3 separate regions of the Homo sapiens genome follow, and all the other regions are linked to region 2. Evidence: promoter capture Hi-C in human tissues and cell types (Jung and others, 2019). All regions are on one chromosome and are shown on one strand. The core of a region is centred on a gene start or on the middle of the fragment in contact, and the rest is flanking DNA. Distances in the headings are between cores, read along the strand shown. Region 1 has its middle 33 kb from the start of ABCC4. Region 2 holds the start of SOX21 (SRY-box transcription factor 21). Region 3 overlaps LOC124903193 (a long non-coding RNA gene).

Evidence for each region. Contacts are between HindIII fragments. The study calls those that stand out against the background at their distance.
Region 1: a contact is called between a fragment that was not itself captured here and the fragment with the promoter of SOX21 in region 2, in 1 of the 25 tissues and cell types used here (lymphoblastoid cells).
Region 3: a contact is called between a fragment that was not itself captured here and the fragment with the promoter of SOX21 in region 2, in 1 of the 25 tissues and cell types used here (lymphoblastoid cells).

The regions. Positions count from the first base shown.
Region 1 is chr13:95,332,257-95,335,798 of GRCh38, forward strand. No RefSeq gene overlaps it. Among named protein-coding and RNA genes, the nearest start is that of ABCC4, 33 kb to the left of the region's middle. The HindIII fragment of the contact is 3,544 bases long and covers 141-3,542 here.
Region 2 is chr13:94,710,679-94,714,395 of GRCh38, forward strand. SOX21 (SRY-box transcription factor 21) reads right to left here and starts at 1,867. Exons shown (of 1, transcript NM_007084.4): 1 at 1-1,867. The coding sequence starts at 1,371. The coding sequence ends at 541. SOX21-AS1 (SOX21 antisense RNA 1) reads left to right here and starts at 2,038. Exons shown (of 2, transcript NR_046514.1): 1 at 2,038-2,715; 2 at 2,960-3,717. It overlaps LOC112268114 (a long non-coding RNA gene), which reads right to left and starts at 2,765. Exons shown (of 2, transcript NR_158368.1): 1 at 2,730-2,765; 2 at 2,042-2,584. RefSeq lists an enhancer at 2,591-3,092. The HindIII fragment of the contact is 11,141 bases long and covers 1-3,717 here.
Region 3 is chr13:95,398,370-95,401,793 of GRCh38, forward strand. All of the region lies in intron 1 of LOC124903193 (a long non-coding RNA gene), which reads right to left. Among named protein-coding and RNA genes, the nearest start is that of ABCC4, 99 kb to the left of the region's middle. The HindIII fragment of the contact is 4,621 bases long and covers 1-3,424 here.

The DNA of each region.
Region 1 (3,542 bases), core at 663-3,162, 620 kb after region 2:
CTACTCAGGATGCTGAGGCAGGAGAATTGCTTGAACCCGGGCGACAGAGGTTGCAGTGAGCCAAGATTGTGCCACTTCACTCCAGCCTGTGCGAAAGAGCGAAACCCCGTCTAAAAAAAAAAAAAATTATGTGTCAACTTGATTGGGCTAAAGGATGCCCCAATAGGTGGTAAAATATTATTTCTGGGTGTGTCTGTTAGGGTGTTTCCAGAAAATATTTTCCTTGGCATTAGTAGACTGAGTAAGGAAGGTCACCTTCACCAACATGGGTGGGCACCTTCCAACTCACTGAGGGCCCAAATAGAAGAAAAAAGTGGAGGAAGGGCAACTTTGCTGTCTCTGTGTGAGCTGAGACATCCATCTTCTCCTGCCCGCAGATATCAGTGCTCCTGATTCTCCGCGCGTTTGAACTTAGACTGGGATTCACACCATTGCTCCTGCCCTGTCCCTATTCTCAGGCCTTCAGACTCAGGCTGGCACTACTCCACTGGCATTCCTGGTTCTCCAGCTTTCAAGTGGCAGACTATGGAATTTCTTGACCTCCATAATTGCATGAGCCAATTCCTACAACAAATTTCTCTCTCTCTCTCCCTCTCCTACCCCCACCATTGGATCTGTTTCTCTGGAGTACCCTAACTAATATATTTGTCATACAGCAACAGATAACCAACTTATCTTTATTTTTTTTTTTGAGACAGAATCTCACTCTGTCACCCAGGCTGGAGTGCAGTGGCACAATCTCGGCTCACTGCAAGCTCCGCCTCCTGGGTTCATGCCATTCTCCTTCCTCAGCCTCCTGAGTAGCTGGGACTACAGGTGCCCGCCACCATGCCCAGCTAATTTTTTTGTATTTTTAGTAAAGACAGGGTTTCACTGTGTTAGCCAGTATGGTCTCGATCTCCTGACCTCATGATCCGCCCACCTCGGCCTCCCAAAGTGCTGGGATTACAGGCGTGAGCCACCTCACCCAGGCTTTTTTTTTTTTTTTTTGAGATGGAGTCTCGCTCTGTCACCCAGGCTGGGTGCAATGGCGTGATCTCAGCTCACTGGAACCTCCGCTTCCCTGGTTCAAGCAATTCTCCCACCTCAGCCTCCCGAGTAGCTGGGATTACAGGCACGCACCATCATGCCCAGCTAATTTTTTTTGTAGAGATGGGGTTTCACCATGTTGGACAGGCTGGTCTCGAACTCCAGACCTCAGGTGATCCACCCACCTCGGCCTCCCAAAGTGCTGGGATTACAGGCGTGAGCCACCAATTTATCCTTTAAGAGAAGGAAAATCTTAAAACTCTGGTGCTAGTTTATTTATTTATTTATTTATTTAGAGACGGAATCTTCCTCTGTCACCTGGCCTGGAGTGCAGTAGCGCAATCTCAACTCACTGCAGCCTCTGCCTCCCAGGTTCAAGTGATTCTCGTGCCTCAACCTCCTGAGTAGCTGCTATTACAGGCATGTGCCACCACACCTGGTTGATTTTTGTGTTTTTTTTTTTTTTAGTAGAGACAGGGCTTTGCCATATTGGCCCAGCTGGTCTCAAACTCCTGAGCTCAAGCGATCTTCCTGCCTCAGCCTCCCAAAGTGCTGGGATTACAGGTGTGAGCCTGGTGCTAGTTTATAGAAGAAAAAATAATAATACTAATAATAGGTAACCTTATTGTGCACTGATTATGTGCTCAGCATTGTGTTAAACACTCTACACCTGTCAACTTGTTACAACAACCCTAAGAAATGGGTGTTATAATTGTCCCTACATTTTAAATGGGGAAACGGAATCTTCAAGAAGTTAGACAACTTGCCCAAGGTTACACAGTAAGTAACACAGGATTTGAACAGCTAATTATTGTTGTCATTCATGGATGCCTGTCAAATGTGAATAGAGTTGAAGGAAATCTAGGGAGTTCTACTCTAGTGCAGTGACCATGGTACCAAGGGACACCCTGGGCCAACCTGTGGCCTGTGGGCAGGCCTGTGGAAGAGGAGGTATGTGGTATAGCTGCTGTGCCCCATGGGCCCCACGTGTAAGGCCAGCACTGGGGCAAGTAGGGTGGTTCCATTTAGTGTGTTTTGTAAAAAAAAAAAAAAAAGATAAAATATATGTAACATAGAATTCATCATTTTATGGCCGGGTGTGGTGGCTCACACCTATAATCCTAGCACTTTGGGAGGCTGAGGCAGTGGATCACTTGAGGTCAGGAGTTCGAGACCAGCCTGGCCAGCATGGTGAAACCACATCTCTACCAAAAATACACAAATTAGCCGGGCGTGGTGGCACATGCCTGTAATCCAAGCTACTTGGGAGGCTGAGGCAGGAGAATTGCTTGAACCCGGAGGCAGAGGTTGCAGTGAGCCAAGATCATACCACTGCACTCCAGCCTGGGTGACAGAGTGAGACTCTGTCTCAAAAAAAAAAAAAAAAAATTCACCATTTTAGCCATTTTAGGTGTACAATTCTGTAGCATTAAGTACATTCACAATGTTGTACAACCATCACCTCTATCCATTTCCAGAACTTTTCATAGATGAGTATGCTTTTCAATACCAGGAAAGCTTCTGGTATCAATACCCAAATGCTAGCTGGGTGTGGTGGCTCATGCCTGTAATCTCAACACTTTGGGAAGCCGAGGTAGGAGGATCACTTGAGTTCAGGAGTTCAAGACCAGTCTGGGCAACATAGGGAGACTCCATCTCTTCAAAAAATTAAAAAGTTAGCCAGGTGTGATGGTGCACACCTGTGGTCCCAGCTACTCCAGAGGCTGAAGTAGGAGGATCACTTGAGCCTAGGATGTTGAGACCAGCCTGGGTAACACAGTAAGGTCCTGTCTCAAAAATAAATAAATAAATGAAAACTGCACACCTCAATACCACCAACAGCATTCTCACTAGCTAATGTTAGGCTTTTTTTTTTTTTTTTGAGACTATCTCTGTCACCCAGGCTGGAGTGCAATGGCATGATCTTGGCTCACTGCAGCCTCCATCTTCCAGGTTCAAGGGATTCTCCTGCCTCAGCCTCCCCAGTAACTAGGATTATAGGTGCACACCACCACGCCCAGCTAATTTTTGTATTTTCAGTAGAGACGAGGCTTCACCATGTTGACCAGGCTGGTCTCAAACTCCTGACCTCAAATGATCTGCCTGCCTTGGCCTCCCAAAGTGCTGGGATTACAGGCGTGAGCCACCATGCCCGGCTTTTTCTCTCTTTTTTTTTTTTAGACGGGGTTTCGCTTTTATTGCCCAGGCTGGAGTGCAATGGCACAATCTCGGCTCACTGCAACCTCTGCCTCCTGGGTACAAGCGAGTCTCCTGTTTCAGCCTCCCAAGTAGCTCAGATTACAGGCATGTGCCACCACGCCCGGCTATTTTTTTTTTGTATTTAGTAGAGACAGGGTTTCACCATGTTACTCAGGCTGGTTGTGAACTCCTGACCTCAGGTGATCTACCGGCCTCAGCCTCCCAAAATGTTGGGATTACAGGCATGCGCCACCGTGCCCAGCCTGCCCGGCTATCTTAAAGGACTCAAGAAGCAAGGCCTTTCATTCCATAGT
Region 2 (3,717 bases), core at 617-3,116:
TCCCACTCCCAGAAACGAATGACACAAGCAGCTTTTCCCGTGTGCCAGCCATTTCAGACCTCACATTTGAACAGCGTGCATGCAACACGGACCGGGAGGGGGTTGGGGGTTGGGGGGCTGAGGGGCGAGGAAGAAGAATGAGAAACAAAAACAAAACCGACCATGAAACTTCCAACAAAACTGGAAAGGCCAACATGTCAAAAAGTTACTCCTCCACCTCCGTGGGTCAAAACGCAACAGGTTCCGAAGTGCAAAGCAAACGCCAACTGCTGCCGCACACAACCGCCTGCTTTCGAGTTGGCTGCCGAAGTGCGGGTCTGAAATGATCCTGCGAATTCACAGGCCTGCTCGCCCGCGCCCTTGCGCGCTTGGCCACTCCTGCCCCGCCTGGCCTCTCTGCCTCTACCTGGCACCTATACATTCTATGTACATACAAACCGGGCCCCCGGTCGCGGGAGGGCGCACGGGGAGGCCGCAGCGCTCGTACCTATACATATGTACACGTGTGCACACCGGTCCTCGCGAGGCGGCCCCGCGGGGTCATAGCGCGGCAGCGTAGGCCGCGGGGTAGGGGTCCAGCTGGGGCTTGCCCATGCCCGGCAGCAGGATGTAGGCGAGCGGCGGCTGCAGCCCGGGGCTGGGCCACGCGCTGCAGTTGCACGGGATCATGTAGCCCGGGTTGCCCGGGCTGGGGTGCGAGTGCGTGTGCCCCCCGGCGGCGGCGGCCGCCGCTGCAGCCGCCGCCGCCGCGCCGTGGAAGGCGCCCGCGCCCGCGGTCGGGTAGCCCAGCGACGACGCGTACGGGAGGCCGGACGAGGACGACGAGATCTCTGCCATTTTGGAGCCCAGGTCGAGCAGCGAGTAGGGGCTGCCCGCGGCGGCGGCGGCGGCGGCAGCGGCGGCGGCAGCGGCCGACTGCGGGAAGAAGACGCGTGCGGCGGCAGCGGCGGCGGCCGCGGCCGCCTTCTCGGGATTGGCGAGCAGCGACTCAGGCACCAGGCCGCCGCCCGCCCCCGCGTGCAGCCCGGCGCCCGCCTTGAGCGCAGGGTGCTCGGCGTCCGCCACGCCGCCCAGGCCGTAGGGCACCGGGAAGGCGAACTTGTCCTTCTTGAGCAGCGTCTTGGGCTTGCGCCGCGGCCGGTACTTGTAGTCGGGGTGCTCCTTCATGTGCATGGCGCGTAGACGCTTGGCCTCGTCGATGAACGGCCGCTTCTCCGACTCTGTGAGCAGTTTCCACTCGGCGCCCAAGCGCTTGCTGATCTCCGAGTTGTGCATCTTGGGGTTCTCCTGGGCCATCTTGCGCCGCTGAGCCCGCGACCACACCATGAAGGCGTTCATGGGCCGCTTGACGTGGTCCACCGGCTTGGACATGCTCTCGCCCTGCCGCGGCTGCAGCCCGCCGCCTCCCGGGCCCTCGCCCTCGGCCCGGAGGAAATCAATGTTGGCTGCCCGCGGAGACCCGCTCGGCCGGCCGGGGCTCGTCGCGCCCCGGCGTCGCTCCCGCCCCGGAGGAGGGGGCTGGGGGACCAGCCCAGGGCCACGCCGCGCCCCGGGCCGCCTTAGTGTCTCCGGCCGAGCGCTCGAGCAGGTTGTCTCTGGGACACTCTAACTTCTCGGCGGTGCCCCCTCCCCGCGGCGGCAGTTTGCCCTTTACGTTCTTTGGGTCCTTCGTCTGCAGTGGCGTTTGCTGGTGAGCTCCCCGCAGGTAGCGGCGGCCGGGCAGAGCGCTCCTCCTCCTCGGTCGTTCTCTCTTAAATGCAAAGCGTCCCCAAAAGTTGCGTCGCGGAGACTCCTCGAAGTTGAGCCGAGGAGCCCGCCGCCGCGTGCTGCCAAGTGCCAAAGGGGGCTCTCAGCGGCTGGAGTGTTTGGGTTCTCCTCGGTGACTTTCTCATTTGACAGAAGCAGATGGGGGTGGGGAAGGCGGGGAGGTGGCCCTGGAGGAGGAAGAGGAGGGGGAGGCGGAGGAGTGTCCAGGCGTGCCACGAGAACGCAGAGCGCAGCAATGGATATAAATACAAATACAGCAGCACCAGCCTGTCTTCTTGGCTCCGGGCAGGGTGCGCCGATGGGAAACCCCCAATCGGCTGGGTGATTTTTTTTTTTTGGAGGGGGGAGCTGTCCCCCGCAGCACCTGCCTCTCGAGTCTTCCTCTCCCGCTGCTGGACTGACGGGTGGGGCGAGGAAGGAGGGTGGATGAGGCTTGAGCAAGCGTTGGTCGCCCGGCCTCAGAGGAAGTTCTCCCGGCTCGCCGAGGAGCCGCGTCCGGCCGTCCCCTGGGCCATGCCGGCTCTGTTCGCTCCGAGCCCCTTCAGGCGCGCCTGCCGACTTAGGGCTCCCGGAGCTCGCCGGCCGCGGAGGGCAGCGCAGCCTCCACGCGGCGCCGCAGGCCTGGCACCGGCCGCGTCCCCGCCTCGCTCTTCTCGGCAGCCGCCTGGCACTTGCAACTAACTTCGCCCAAGTTTCCTGCGCCGCGGCGCCCCTCTCGGCGCGCTCCTGGGAGCGTGCGCCCGCGAGTCCGCCGCGCCCGGGGCCCCTCTGTCCTCGCTGCTGTGGCCAGAGCCGAGCCGGCGCAGGGGCGGAGGTGCTGCAGGAGAGTTAAGGAAAACGGGCCATCACCTCAGTTCGCAGGTCCGCGCTGTGGCACCTCCCGCTCTCCCCACTCCCGCGGCGCAGGGGGCCCCTTCCCAGCCCAGGCCGCCCTCTGCACCGGCTCAGGTGAGTGTGGCTACCTGCATGTGTGCGCGCCCGGAGCCGGCACTGGGTGTGCATGTCCAGCCGCGGCTGTGTGTGTATATCTGGGGGCCTGCGGAGGAGGTGGAGCCCAGGACTCGGGGAGGGAGGAGGGATCAGCGGAGCCGCCTCCCGCTCCCACACCCCCAGGACCTCGAATTAACAGATCCCCTCCGCCCCCCGCCCCCTCCCAATCCTCCTCCTCCCACTCCTTTTCACTTGAGAGCAGGTTTAGGCGAGTGGAGAGTCCGGAGCGCGCCGGGGAGTCTGCGCCCTGTTTGGCGTTGGCAAACCCTGGTGTCATCCCGGCTACCCAGGCCGGCCTGGCGTGCAGCTGCCCTGGTTGTGGCCCTGGAATCCTCGCCGGGAGGAAGAAGGCGGCGGGCACGAGTAGGAGAGCCTCTCCAGCTACGGAGGAAGAGGGTTAAACCTGGAGAAGGGGAGACTCACCCTTGAAAATGTTTGAGACTGTTCCTAGCAAGAAAGTGCTCATTTTCCTTGGAGGTCCAGGTGTTGCTTGCAACAGAAACAGAGGCTTCTCGCATTTTCTTGCACTGGCGATGCACCTAGTCAGAGGTAGTGGAGTGAAAAATAACTCTGGAGGGAATAAGGACATTCTTGGCAACCTTTCCAAAAAAGAGCTAGCCCAGACTGAGAGTATGCATCCTTGACTGACTATTCAGCTCTTTAAAAATTCTGTGTTGTTTGTCTTTTGTTGTAATCTTGGTCGCCAGAACCATCTATATACTGATCTCTTTAAGGTACAGTTAACTTACAGTGTCTCACTTACATGCGCTGCTGAGGTGAAGGTGTTTAAAATCAATAAGTGTAAGTAGTTTCCCTGGAAGAGAGAAGTAAAACGTACCAATCACTCAGTGCTGGAATATTTTTATGCTAAGCATAATTTCCTTCTTTAGTAGTTAGAGCAGTTTTTTAAAAAAAATAGTTAACACGATGCAGAAGTCAAACAGCATGATTCTGTTTCCG
Region 3 (3,424 bases), core at 183-2,682, 690 kb after region 2:
AGCCTCCTGAGTAGCTGGGATTACAGGCGCCCACCACCACACCTAGCTAACCAAGTTGCCCTGGTGATCCACCCACCTCGGCCTCCCAAAGTGCTGGGATTACAGGTGTAAGCTACTGCACCCAGCTTCTATCTTTTTAATGGAAACATTTTAAATTAAATTCAGCCTCAAACTGTCTTAACTCTGCCTCTCTCTATTGCCACCACATGTCCTGGGCTGCCATCATCTTTCACCTACAGAACTACAACAGCCTCCTAAAAGAGACTTAATAATCTGTACAACAAACCCCCATGACACCAGTTCGCTTATACAACAAATCTTCACATGTACCCCAAACCTAAAATACAAGTTAAAGAAAAAGGACTTGTGGCTGGGCATGGTGGCTCACAACTGTAATCCCAACACTTTGGGAGGCCTAGGCAGGTGGATCACCTGAGGTCAGGAGTTCGAGACCAGCCTGGCCAACATGGTGAAACCCTGTCTCTACTAAAAATACAAAAATTAGCTGGGTGTGGTGTCACATGCCTGTAGTCCCAACTACTCAGGAGGCTGAGACAGGAGAATCGCTTGAACCCAGGAGGCAGAGGCTGCAGTGAGCAGAGATTGTGCTACTGCACTCTAACCTGGGTGACAGAACAAAAGTCCATCTCAAAAAAAAAAAAAAAGGTCTTGTTTAACTATTAGTGAGAAAGGATGTCGAAATCCCCAAGAGGTTTGCTCTCGTCCAAATTTGAAGAGCTTACAATAATATCACTATTTTGAATTTGTGATTTGAACAAAGGATTAAATAAAGTTGTGCTTTGCTCAATAATTTCTGGTTAAGCTACCAAGTTAGCTCCTTTATTTTATTTATTTTTTATTTTTGAGACACATTCTCTCTCTGTTGCCCAGGCTGGAGTGCAGTGGCACCATCCTGGCTCACTGCAACCTCTGCCTCCTGGGTTCAAGTGATTCTCCTGCCTCTGCCTCCTGAGTAGCTGGGATTACAGGCGTGCACCACCATGCCGGGCTAATTTTTGTATATTTAGTAAAGATGGGTTTTTACCATGTTGGCCAGGCTGGTCTCGAACTCCTGACCTCAAGTGATCTGCCCACCTTGACCTCCCAAAGTGGTAGGATTACAGGTGTGAGCCACCGCGCCCAGCCCAAGTTAGCTCCTTTAAAAACATATTTTGGGCCAGGCACAGTGACTCAAAAAATATTTTTAAAGGAACTAACTTGGTAACTTATGTTCCCAATACTTTGGGAGGCCCAGGTGGGAGGATCGCTTGAGCCCAGGAGTTCAAGGCCAGCCTGGGCAACATAGTGAGACCCTATATTTATGAAAAATGAAAATATTAGCTGGGCATGGTGGTGTGTGCCTGTAGTTCCAGCTCCTCAGAAGGCCGAGGTGGGAGGATTGCTGAGCTCAGGAGGTCAAGGCTGCAGTGAGTTGTGATCGTGCCACTGCACTCGCAGCCTGAGGAACAGAGTGAAATCCTGTCTCAAAAACTTTTTTTTAATTAAAAAAAAACGTACTTTGAAGACACCTACACACAGATACATACAGCTGTGTACTATAGGCATAGCTTCCATTTGAACCAAGTCTTTTTTTTTTTTTTGAGACGGAGCCTCACTTTGTCACTCAGGCTGGAGTGCAGTGGCACGATCTCAGCTGACTGCAAACTCCACCTCCTGGATTCAAGCAATTCTTATGCCTCAGCCTCCAGAGTAGCTAGGATTACAGGCGCCTGCCACCACACCCGGCTAATTTTTGTATTTTTAGTAGAGATGGGGTTTCACCATGTTGGCCACGCTGGTCTTGAACTTCTGACCTCAAGTGATCCACCTGCCTCCGTCTCCCAAAGTGCTGGGATTATAGGTGTGAGCCACCGCACCTGGCCTGAACCAAGTCTTTAAGAGGGAGAATTCTGGGTGTGTTGGACTGGAAAGGAAAGGAAGTAGTTCTGGGCTTTTCCTTGGTGATCTTGGGGAGCCCACCCCTACCCTGGCAAGGGCCTTGGCATCCAGCTTCAGGTAGACCTCAGACCACAGGGGATACAGCATGGAGTTCCCTGTGTCCACCTGTGCCCTGACCTCTGGGTAATTCTCAGACAAAACCCACAGTACTTTAGGGGCCAAGGGCAAGCTTCCCCTTCACCCTCTGAAGGCTCATGGAAAAGTCAACTGACAAAAAGCAGGTTAAGAACAGAGAAGGCATACAAATTCATTAATATGCATGGGAGTCGTAAGACCTCAGATACATGGCTGGATGGCTGATGCTTCTTTTTTAAAAGTTTTTTTTTTAATTTAATAGCTATTTTTTTAGAGATGGAGTCTCACTCCATCACCCAGGCTGAAGTGCAGTGGTGCGATCATAGCTCACTGGATCTTTGAACTCCTGTGCTCAAGCGATCCTCCCACCTCAGCCTCTTGAATAGCTGGGACCACAGGTGCACACCATCACATCTGGCTAATTTTTTGTTTGTTTGTTTGTTTCTGAGACAGGGTCTCACTCTGTCACCCAGGCTGGAGTGCAGTGGCTTGACCATGGCTCATTGCAGCCTCAACCTCCGGGCTCAAGAAATCCTCCCACTTCAGCCTCCCAAGTAGCTGGGACTACAGGCATGCACCAGCACACTGGGCTAATTTTTATATTTTTAGTAGAGATGGGGTTTTGTCATGTTGCATATATATATACATATATATGTGTATATATGTGTGATATATATATGTATACATATATACATATATATATGTATATATGTATACATATATATATATATATATTTTTTTTTTTTTTTGTAGAGACGGAGTCTTACTTTGTTGCCCAGGCTGGTCTCAAACTCCTGGCTTCAAGCAATCCTCCCACCTTGGCCTTCCAAAGTGCTGGGATTATGGTCCCACCTTGCCCAGCCTGGTTGATGCTTTTCTGTAACCATCTTGAGGTTTCAGAAAAAACGAGGGCTTGGAGCAAGACCAGACAGGTTATGGGAAGGAGAGAAGAGGGGGCTTGGCTTACAAAGGTCATCTTGTTATGTAGATGAAATCTCACAGGTAGCAGCTCTCAGAGAGAAGAGATGGTGAATGTTCTTTTCAGATGTTTAAAGGTGTCGGACTCTCAGTTCATCTTTCCCAGATTGGACAATGGAAGGCCTCAGGGAAAGCCTGGTTGCACCCGTGTGGATTTTCTCTACAGGTGCAAATCTCCCCAACAAAGGGTAGCTTTGCAGCTTTTCCTTTATTTCCAGACCTTCTGAATAGCCATGTTGTACCATGTCAAGGAAATCTATTTTGGGGTGAAATATTTCAGTTTCCTTCAGTAATTTTGGAGGTGATGTTGAGTTGTAGGAGGGGGAGATAAGATTATTATTTTTCCTACATAAACTACTGTCATTGAGTACCATTTTTCTATTGCCTCTACCACACAGAGAAGAATGTATCA